Regions from separate parts of the Homo sapiens genome. Here regions 1 and 3 are each linked to region 2. The links are contacts of gene promoters, found by promoter capture Hi-C in human tissues and cell types (Jung and others, 2019). All regions are on one chromosome and are shown on one strand. Each heading gives the region's core, a stretch centred on a gene start or on the middle of the fragment in contact. The rest is flanking DNA. Distances are from core to core; before and after follow the strand shown.

Region 1 (3,974 bases), core at 633-3,132, 1.0 Mb before region 2:
TCTTTTTGAGATGGAGTCTAGCTGTCACCCAGGCTGGAGTGCAGTGGCATGAATTTGGCTCACTGCCACCTCCACCTCCCGGGTTCAAGTGATTCTCCTGCCTCAGCCTCCTGAGTAGCTGGGATTATAGGCGTGCACCACCACACCCAGCTAATTTTTGTATTTTTAGTACAGATGGAGTTTTGCCATGTCGGCCAGGCTGGTCTCAAACTCTTGACCTCATGATCACCTGCCTTGGCCTCCCAAAGTGCTAGGATTACAGGCATGAGCCACCACGCCCGGCTGAGAAACCTTTTTCTTTTTCTTTTTCTTTTTTTTTTTGAGACGGAGTCTCGCTCTGTCACCCAGGCTAGAATGCAGTGGTGCGATCCCGGCTCACTGCAAGCTCCGCCTCCTGGGTTCATGCCATTCTCCTGCCTCAGCCTCCTGAGTAGCTGGGACTACAGGTGCCCGCCACCACGCCCGGCTAATTTTTTTTCTTTTTTAGTAGAGATGGGGTTTCACTGTGTTAGCCAGGATGGTCTCGATCTCCTGACCTCGTGATCTGCACACCTTGGCCTCCCAAAGTGCTGGGATTACAGGCATGAGCCACCGCGCCTGGCCAAGAAACCTTTTTCAAAGAGTCCCTCCTACTGTAACCACTAGGAGGTTGGGTAAATACTGAAGAACTATGTAGATGTGTGCTAGATCAATTCTTCCTTGTTAAGAGTTTCAATCCCACTGACGATCTGAATAAAAACACTCTCCCTCCCTAGGAAAAATGTTTAAATGCACAATAATTTGCACGCAATTTCAGGAATCTCATGGGGGTCCGTGGAACAATTGGGAGCAGCTCCCTGGCAGGAACCAGAAGCCCCCGTCCACTTTTGTGTCCTCAGTGCCTGTATTCAACCAAAGTCTCCAGAACAGATGGAGAATTCAAGACTACTCAAGTCACCTTCAAGAGAGAAAGTACAAATCAGAACGTTTTCATTTTGGAAGAACTCTGATAACAAGTGATTACCTGAACCAGACAATATGGGAAAGGATCAGTATAAAGAAACAGAAAATATTTTCAAAAGAGAATCGTGGAGGCCAAAGGATTAAGGATTTCCAAAGGCCCATACCTGGGGGATTTGTCCTCTTGGGTATGTTCTGAGGTTCTTCTGTTGGTCCAAAAATATTAGATGCCATCCTATTAGGCCTGCTGGAAGGAGTAGCTTCTTCTGGACTTCCAAAAAGATTGCTCGATTCTCCTCCTGGGGGCTTCATGGCCCTACAAGCACAGAGTACATGCCAATTACTGATGGCAGACCTGAAAGCTTGTCACTGTGCAAGGATTTTGGCACAACTAGACAGGGTAAAAGTATTTTGTTTTTTTCTTTTTGAGACAAGGTCTCATTCTGTCACCCAGGCTGGAGCGCAGTGACGTGATTTTGGCTCACTGCAACCTCTGCCTCCTGGGCTCAAGTGATCCTCCCACCTCAGCCTCCTGAGTAGCTGGGATTACAGGCACCCACCACCACAGCTGGCTAATTTTTTGTATTTTTGGTAGAGACAGGGTTTTGCCATGTTGCCAAAGTTGGTCTTGAACCCCTAAGCTCAAGTGATCTGCCCACCTTGGCGTCCCAAAGTGCTGTGATTACAGGTATGAGCCACCATACCCAGCAAAAGTATTTTCTTAACATCTACTGAGAAATCACATACCACCATTAGTTAATACTGGTATGACTAGTTTACAGACGCCAGACTACTTCTGCTGCTCTTTAGTTTCCCTTAAAAGTATTCTTTTTTTTTTTTTTTTGAGATGGAGTCTCGCTCTGTCGCCCAGGCTGGAGTGCAGTGGCACGATCTCAGCTCACTGCAACCTCTGCCTCCTGGGTTCAAGTGATTCTCCAGCCTCAGTCTCCTGAGTAGCTCAGATTACAGGTGCCTGCCACAACACCTGGCTAACTTTTGTTTGTTTTTTTTGAGACGGAGTTTTACTCTTGTTGCCCAGGCTGGAGGAATGCAATGGCGCAATCTCAGCTCACCACAACCTCCGCCTCCTGGGTTCAAGCAATTCTTCTGCCTCAGCCTCCCACGTAGCTAGGATTACAGGTATGCGCCACCACACCCAGCTAATTTTGTATTTTTAGTAGAGACGGGGTTTCGCCATGTTGGTCAGGTTGGTCTCGAACTCCTGACCTGGGGTGATCCACCTGCCTCGGCCTCCCAAAGTGCTGGGATTACAGGTGTGGGCCATCGCACCTGGCTCTTGAATCACTTTTTATTGTAAAAACTTAAACTTAAGAACTAATAAGGAATTGCCACAAAGCTCTATTTCTAGAGCACTATCTACATTAAAAACCGGTGAAACGCTGAATTCATAACAACTGGAAAAACTTTTAAATGCATTTGAGAGAGAGGCTTACTGAAATTGAGATTTAAACCAGTGAGTGGCACATGCTCTCTCACTAGTCCTAAGCAATGGGACTGTCTGTGATCCCAGACGTTTAGAAACGAAGTCAGCCCTCTGTATCCACGGGCTCTGCTTCCATGGATTCAACCAACCTCAGATCAAAATGTCAGAAATAAAAGGATGGTTGCATCTGTACTGAACATCTACAGACTTCTTTTCTGTCATTATTCCCCAGGTGATACGGTGTAACAACTATGTGCATAGTATTAGGTATTATATGTAACCTTGTAACCTAGAGATGATTTAAAAGCATATGGAGGATGTGCATAGGTTATATGCAAACATTACACCACTTTATATCAAGGACTTACACATCCTTGGATTTTGGCATCCTGGGGGTCCTGGAACCAACTCCCGCAGGATACCAAGGATGACCATACTTGAAATTACAGGGCTCAACATCACACAAAAACTATGATATGAGGTTAGATCTCACTGGAAAGCTTTGCAAACACTGACCACTCAAGGTTTGGTTAACAAAAATAACAGTTTCTCCTCAAAAGATCTAGAAAGAGCGCTGAGGGCTCCTTGTGACTGGATGTGAATGGAGTTCTCAGATCTCCTGCTATAAAGCAGGAAGGCAGAGAGTGCTTCAGTCTCCGCCTGCAGAGACCCACGGGCTGGCTACTGTACCCCAGAAACCAAGCGTGTGCTGGCCGACCTCTGAAGTGGTGCCCAGGGCCCCTGTCCACTCAGGAGGCTGGGGGAGGTGGATGCCAAACTTCCTGTCAGCAGTTGCCATTTCCTGGAGGATTTGAGGAGGGAGAAAAAAAAAGACAGGTGCACTTAAGAAAAATTATTTTTTAAAAATAACCAATAACCAAGCTTAAATGAGAAAGGGCTGTCCGGGAGCAGTACCTGGCACCTGTAATCCCAGCACCTTGGGAGGCCGAGGTGGGAGGACTGTTTGAGCCCAGGAGTTCGAGACACGCCTGGGCATATGGGGAGACCCTGTCTCTACAAAAAATACAAAAATAAGGCCAGGCGTGGTGGCTCACGCCTGTAATCCCAGCACCTTGGGAGGCCGAGGTGGGCGGATCACGAGGTCAGGAGATCGAGACCATCCTGGCTAACACGGTGAAATCCCGTCTCTACTAAAAATACAAAAAATTAGCCGGGCGTGGTGGCGGACGCCTGTAGTCCCAGCTACTCAGGAGGCTGGGGCAGGAGAATGGCGTGAACCCGGGAGGCGGAGCTTGCAGTGAACCAAGATGCGCCACTGCATTCCAGCCTGGGTGACAGAGCGAGATTCCGTCTCAAAAAAACAAACAAACAAACAAAAAATTAGCTGGGTGTGGTGGTATGCGCCTGTTGTCCCAGTTATTCGGGAGGCTAAGGCTGGCTTGAGCCCAGGAGGTCAAAGCTGCAGTGAACCATGATTGCATCACTGTACACCAGCCTGGACGAAAGAGTGAGGACTTGTTTCACCAAAAGGAAAAAAAATAAAGGGTGGTGGGTGGGAGGGCGTGGCTTAACAAGATTTTAGGTGAGGTGCTCTTAGAGTGGCCATAAGGCCATCTGACTTCCATATCCA
Region 2 (2,528 bases), core at 29-2,528:
AGCCTTCCCTAAAACCTGCCTCCAGCCTGGTGTTGGCAGAGCAGGCACTCCCCAGTGTCACACTGGGAGCTGCTGCTGAACCCTCAGAGAAGCCTCTTCCCCGCCCACTGCCAGTGCAGGGACACCAGGCCCCAGAAGCATAACTGTGGTCAGCAAGACCCTTGGAGCAGAGGGCTCAGGACAGACACGGCCACACCTGCAACCCAACACCCTGCAAGACAGCCGCCGCCTTGGCCCCTGCCTCCCCCCTCGCTACAGACAGAGTGACAGGACCGCAGTGAGGGGTGCCAACAGCAGGGGCTGCCCTGGGTGGCTGTGGCCTGTGCCCTTGCCTGGAGATGTCCCCGGCACACGTGCTCTGGTACTGGGAGCTCCGGGTGCCCGGAGGCCGGGACGGTGGGCTGGAGCACACAGCACGGGGACGTGGCGCACACAGAGCCCACAGGAAGAGCAAACGCTGCTGCCACCCCGGCAGGAGGGAGGGAGAGCCCGCGGGGAAGGGTCCTGTTATCCCTGGAGCACCACTGGACTGAGCGGTGCCGGCTCCCAGCGGGGTGCGCTGTAGGGGCCCCGACAACCCTCAGTGCGGAGGTCACAGAATTATCAGGGCCAAGGACACCCGGAGCACCTCGGTCCAATCCCCCAGGCTGCGAAGCGGATTAGGCCGAGCCCGCGCCCAGCCCCTCCCTCGTCCCGCGCACCACGGGTACCTTGTGGATCTCCTCCCGCAGCTCCTCGTCCGTCTGCTCGGCTTCTAGGGGGACAAAGAGACTCCACTGCGGACCCAGCAGGCCCGCCGGACCGCTGCGGGCCGGGCCCCCGGGAGGCTACGGCCGCTACCTGAGTAGTCCACGATGTGGGTGGGCACCTTCTCCGGGGTGACGTCCGCGGGGATGGTGATCTCCTCCGCGCGGGGAGGGACCTGCAAGGGACCCGCGCGCTCACCAGGGACCCCCGGCTGGGCCCGCTCCCACCCCCGCGGCGGGCGTGCCCCTTACCTCCTCGGGGAACTCCTCGCCCACCAGGGACAGGATCAGCGACGTCTTCCCCACCTGGGCTGCGCGGGGCGAGGCGGTCAGCGCGAGGGCCAAGGTCACGGCGCCCCCCGACCCCCGAGACCCTCACCCCGCCTCACGGCCGCCGCAGCTCCGAGACCCCCGGGCCGGCGCCTACCCTCGCCCAGTAACAGGATGCGCACGTCCCGCCTCATAGCTGCCGCCCGGAGCCGCTCCCCGACCCGGAACCCGGCCCCGACCTGGTCCTCAAGCCTTTCGCTCTGCCCCCGCGCCCGCCCCGCACTTCCGGTTCTCGGCCCCGCGCTGTCCCCACACTTCCGGCCCCGCCCGCACAGCCGCACCAGCGAGCCGGGCGGGCCAGAGCGGACAGGCTGTGCGGCGCGCCACCGTGTGGACGCGCCGGCCACGGCGGACAGCGCAGGGTCCTGGCGCCCTGGCAGGCCGAGCGGCCATTGCTTCACGGCACCACAGGGGCCTTGACAAACAGCCGATTAAGGGACGGGCAGAGGCTGAGCTCAGGCCAGGAGTGACCAGAGACAGCCAGTGCAACAATGCAGCAATAATGCAATAAATGCCCATGTTTATTACAAGATAGAAACATTAAAGATTTCTTAGGCAAAAGGGCAACAGGTATGAAAGTATTCACAGGGCGCCAAATTTACAACAGCTTGCTCCAGGCGATTTACGTGAATCCTGGCCTGTCCCAGCATGAGGCCATTGACAACCTGGCGCCTCTGCCAAGCCTGTGTCCAGGTGCCTGGCATGACCAGGCGTGATGCCCACCACCACAGTCCCTGCTGCATCTCAGAGGCCGGGGACCTCCCACACAAGGATCTCGTTGCGGGCGGCCGTGAAGAGCAGCCTGGCGGACGGTGTAAACCTGCACAGGTGCACTGCGTTGTCGTGGCCGGCAAAGTCTTGGGCAGTCCCCATGGCACAGTCTACCAGCCTCAGCATGCACTCTGTGGGTAGACGGTGCAGGTGGGCCAGGGCCAGGACCAGGCAGCACTCAGAGGGCTCCCCCAACCCACCCAGACTGTCCCCACTGGGCATGATGCTGGTCGGGGGAGCTGGTGCTAAAAGGGCTCCTGGCTGTGCCCTCCACGTGCCACTGGGACTAGGGGGTCCATCACTGCCAGGCTGTCGGCCTGCAGCTGGGCCAGTTCCCTCCTTAAAAGTCGCTGCCACCCGTGCATTCAGGCCCTGTGCTGGGCGCTGTGCCTGGTTCCTCACCTGCCTCATCATCTCCTGACTCCAGGACCCTCTCTAGGGCAGATGTCCTCACCCCACCCCAGAGACGAGGAGCCCGGGGCACAGGTGAGGCACCTGTCTTGGAACAGGGCACCAGTCAGCCCACTTGGCCCCCACCTAAGACAGGCCCAAACTGCATCCACCAGCACTCACCAGCAAAGCCAACAGCCAGGAGGTGGGTCCCGGGGGACAGGCTCAGGGACATGGCAAAAAAGGGCAGTGGTATCTTCTCCACCACCTGTGAGCAGCCAGCGTGAGGCT
Region 3 (3,956 bases), core at 877-3,376, 1.3 Mb before region 2:
AGAAGCCCTGTGTCCTCTGCCGCCAGGGACCTGAGCCACTCCAGGCCACATGTGGCCGGCTGCCAGTGGCCTCTGATCAGGGTCCTTGTCCTGCCATGCTGAGTCATTTGGTGATGGCGGGTCTGGCAGGGGGTGCACAGGGCTCCCAATACTGTTCTAGGCAGCCAGTTCAGGTCCTCTATGCCCACACCTGTCCCTTTCTGCTTCTCCCTGCAGGAGGAGCAGTGGCTCTGGGAAGGGCTCTGTGGGCAGGTCCTGTGGAAGGCGGCTCTGCTGCGGCAGGGAGGGAGCTGCTGAATGGGCAGCAGGCTTCCCAGGCACAGGGCCAGGCAGGGGCCTGGGCTGTGCTGCCTTCTCCCAGCACTCCCAGCTCTGCACCTGGGGCCAGTGTTTCCCCGAGAGTGGACTCAGGCCCAAGAGCAGACTGGCCTTCGCCTGCAAACTGGGCCCCTGTGTGCAGGGTTTTGTCCCCAGGGCTGTCTACCAGGCTCAGGCCGGTAGCTGGGTGGCTGGAGGCCTGCTGGCGCCTGGGGATCTCAGCCACAGCAGTGCAGGGGTGGTGATCCTGGTGGGGGCTGGGGAGTAGTGCCTCCTGCCTGCATCCCAGGGCCCCAGGCTCATCCAAACATCCATGTTAAGGTGGTGGGCCGGACACAGTGGCTCACGCCTGTAATCCCAGCACTTTGGGAGGCCGAGGCAGGTGGATCACCTGAGGTTATGAGTTCTAGACCAGCCTGACCAACATGGAGAAACCCCATCTCTACTAAAATACAGAATTACCCGGATTACCCGGGCGTGGTGACCCATGCCTGTAATCCCAGCTGAAGGGGAGGACTGCCCCTCCACACCTGTGGGTATTTCCAGTCGGGTGGGACGAGAGACTGAGAAAAGAAATAAGACACAGAGACAAAGTATAGAGAAACAACAGTGGGCCCAGGGGACCGGCGCTCAGCATACTAAGGACCTGCACTGGCACCGGTCTCTGAGTTCCCTCAGTTTTTATTGATTATTATTTTCGTTATTTCAGTAAAAAGGAATGTAGTAGGAGAGCAGGATGATCATAAGGAGAAGGTCAGCAAAAAACATGTGAACAAAAGAATCTATATCATAATTAAGTTCAAGGGAAGGTACTATGCCTGGATGTGCACGTAGGCCAGATTTATGTTTCTCTCCACCCAAACATCTCAGCAGAGTAAAGAATAACAAGGCAGCATTACTGCAAACATGTCTCACCTCCCACCATAGGGTGGTTTTTCTCCTATCTCAGAACTGAACAAATGTACAATTGGGTTTTATACCGAGACATTCAGTTCCCAGGGGCAGGCAGGAGACAGTGGCCTTCCTCTATCTCAACTACAAGAGGCTTTCCTCTTTGACTAATCCACCTCAGCACAGACCCTTTACAGGTGTCGGGCTCGGGGACGGTCAGGTCTTTCTCATACCACGAGGCCATATTTCAGACTATCACATGGGGAGAAACCTTGGACAATACCCTGCTTTCAAGGGCAGAGGTCCCTGCAGCTTTCCACAGTGCATTGTGCCCCTGGTTTATTGAGACTGGAGAATGGCAATGACTTTTACCAAGTATACTGCTTGTAAGCATTTTGTTAACAAGGCACGTCCTGCACAGCCCTACATCCCTTAAACCTTGATTTCATACAGCACATGTTTTTGTGAGCTCCAGATTGGATCAAAGTGGTTGGGTCAAAGTGGCTGGGGCAAAGCTACAAATTAACAACATCTCAGCAAAGCAATTATTTAAAGTACAGGTCTTTTTCAAATGGAGTCTCTTATGTCTTCCCTTTCTACATAGACACAGTAACAGTCTGATCTCTCTTTCTTTTCCCTACACCAGCTACTCGGGAGGCTGAGGCAGGAGAATCGCTTGAACCTGGGAGGCTCAGGCTCAGCCTGGGAGGCTGAGGCTCAGGGAGGTTGTGGTGAGCCGAGATGACACCATTGTACTCCAGCCTGGGCAACAAGAGCAAATCTCCGTCTCAGGAAAAAAAAAAAAAAAAAGATGTGGTAGGGAGGTGGGGGTGGGAGGGGGCAAGTGGGCTCAGGAGGTGGGGGGGGTGCCGGCAAGCAGACTGCTTGAGTGGGGAGACGGGTGAACCGCAGGACCCCAAGGCCCCCTCACATTGAGAGTCCAGGGAGGGATGGCTGTGGGCAAGGTCTGTATGCCAGGTCACCGGAGGAGGGGGTGGTGTTTCCAGCAATGGAGCGTCTGGTGTGGAATCAGTCACCTTACCCTCCCGCTCCTGCTGGGTGATACCCCATCCTTGCGGCTGCCCCCGCGTCTTCCTTGAGGAACAGCAGACTCTGAGGGGGCAGCCCCTTCCTCCCCAGGGCACGGCCTTGCCCCTCAAGGGTTGGGTTCAGGGGCAGCGGGCAGGCCTGGGCACGGCTGGGCCGTCACCTCGGGCGAGGGATGGGGAATAAAAAGGAACTCTGTCTGAGACACCGTGATCCCTCGCCGGGGCCCAGGCCTGGCTCAGAGCAGCCACCAGGAAGCGTCTGCGGCCCGTATGGGGGAACAGACCATACTTCAGACCCTTGCTCAACCACCGCTTTCCGCTCTCTCAGTGGCAGGTGCCGCGCAGAGCCTGGCCCTGGTGGGGCTGTGGCCCCTGGTGGGGGTGGGGGCCGTGGGCAGCTCCCGGGAGGCTCCTACCCGCGGACGGGTCGGCAGGTGGGAGGAGGGGGCGTCCGGTAGGGTCGGCGAAGGCGCCGAGGCCACGTGCAAGCCCCGGCCCTCGAGGCGGCCTCCCGGGCCCGGGCGCGGGACCGTGCGCAGGACTGACCAGCAGGGGGCACGCTCGCTCGGTGCTGCCAGGCCGGGTGGTCTGCGTGCGCAGGCGCGGCGGGGGGCCTGACGGCGCTGCAGTTCCCCGGGTGGCCGCGGGGGTTGCGGCGGAGGCAGCGAGCGTCCGCGCAGAGAAACCGCCTCGGCCACGCCCGCCCTTGGGCCGGTGCTGGGGACCCAGGCCGAGGCCTCTGGTCGTCTGAGGGTGCCAGGGGCAGCTGCAGGGGGTTTGCCGGGCTTCACGAAGTGACCGCTACAGGGAGTGCAGTCGCAGCCACGGGTGCCCCTTCCAGGGTCACCGGAGGACAGAGCCAGGGGCGGGGGCGGGGGTGGCGCGGCCGGTGGGAACGGCAGGCGTGGTTGGGGGCGCGGGTGGAGGCAGGACGCCCCCAGCCCCTTCTTCAGGGCAGCTGCGTGGGACCCAGGCTGCCCGGACCTGGCCCGCCCTCAGGGCTAGATCCTAGGGTTCCACATCCCAGGCCTCTTTCCTCCGCCCACCTCTCCCCGCTACAACCCAGGCAGCTCCTGGCTGCCTTCCCCCAACCAGAGTCCTCTCTGCAAAATAATAACCAGACCAGGTCCCTCCCTCAGAGGTTCCCACAGTCCTTGCCTGCTCTGACCTAGGCTGACCCCACCTCTCCAGCTTGATTTCCTACTCCATAAATGAGATCGGTGTTGTTTATCATAATTACAGTTTGGGGTTGTTTCTTTTTTTTTTTTTTTTTGAGACGGAGTCTGGCACTGCCGCCCAGGCTGGAGTGCAGTGGCGCGATCTCGGCTCACTGCAAGCTCCGCCTCCCGGGTTCACGCCATTCTCGTGCCTCAGCCTCCCGAGTAGCTGGGACTACAGGCGCCCACCACTGCGCCCGGCTAATTTTTTTGTATTTTTGGTAGAGCCGGGGTTTCACTGTGTTAGCCAGGATGGTCTCGATCTCCTGACCTCATGATCCGCCCAGCAGGGCCTCCCAAAGTGCTGGGATTACAGGCATGAGCTACCGCGCCGGGCCTGGTTGTTTCTTCTTGAGAAGGGGGTTTCTCTGTTGCCTGGGCTGGAGTGCAGTGGCATGACCATGGATCACTGCAGCCTTGAATTCCTGGACTCAAGCGATCCTCCCAGGTCAACCTCCCGAATAGCTAGGACTACAGGTGT

The links. Contacts are between HindIII fragments. The study calls those that stand out against the background at their distance.
Region 1: a contact is called between a fragment that was not itself captured here and the fragment with the promoter of RHOT2 in region 2, in 4 of the 25 tissues and cell types used here (IMR-90 fibroblasts, dorsolateral prefrontal cortex, lymphoblastoid cells and 1 more).
Region 3: a contact is called between a fragment that was not itself captured here and the fragment with the promoter of RHOT2 in region 2, in 1 of the 25 tissues and cell types used here (spleen).

Annotation. Positions count from the first base shown.
Region 1 is chr16:1,682,720-1,686,693 of GRCh38, reverse strand. It overlaps JPT2 (Jupiter microtubule associated homolog 2), which reads right to left. Exons shown (of 5, transcript NM_144570.3): 2 at 1,107-1,255. Among named protein-coding and RNA genes, the nearest start is that of JPT2, 6.4 kb to the right of the region's middle. The HindIII fragment of the contact is 5,684 bases long and covers 1-3,974 here.
Region 2 is chr16:666,882-669,409 of GRCh38, reverse strand. RHOT2 (ras homolog family member T2) reads right to left here and starts at 1,278. Exons shown (of 19, transcript NM_138769.3): 1 at 1,174-1,278; 2 at 999-1,057; 3 at 841-922; 4 at 711-754. The coding sequence starts at 1,210. WDR90 (WD repeat domain 90) reads right to left here. Exons shown (of 41, transcript NM_145294.5): 40 at 2,421-2,505; 41 at 1,580-1,978. The coding sequence ends at 1,821. RefSeq lists silencers at 811-900, 1,001-1,100, 1,161-1,500 and an enhancer at 886-1,567. The HindIII fragment of the contact is 52,780 bases long and covers 1-2,528 here.
Region 3 is chr16:1,928,724-1,932,679 of GRCh38, reverse strand. No RefSeq gene overlaps it. Among named protein-coding and RNA genes, the nearest start is that of HS3ST6, 12 kb to the right of the region's middle. The HindIII fragment of the contact is 5,872 bases long and covers 1-3,956 here.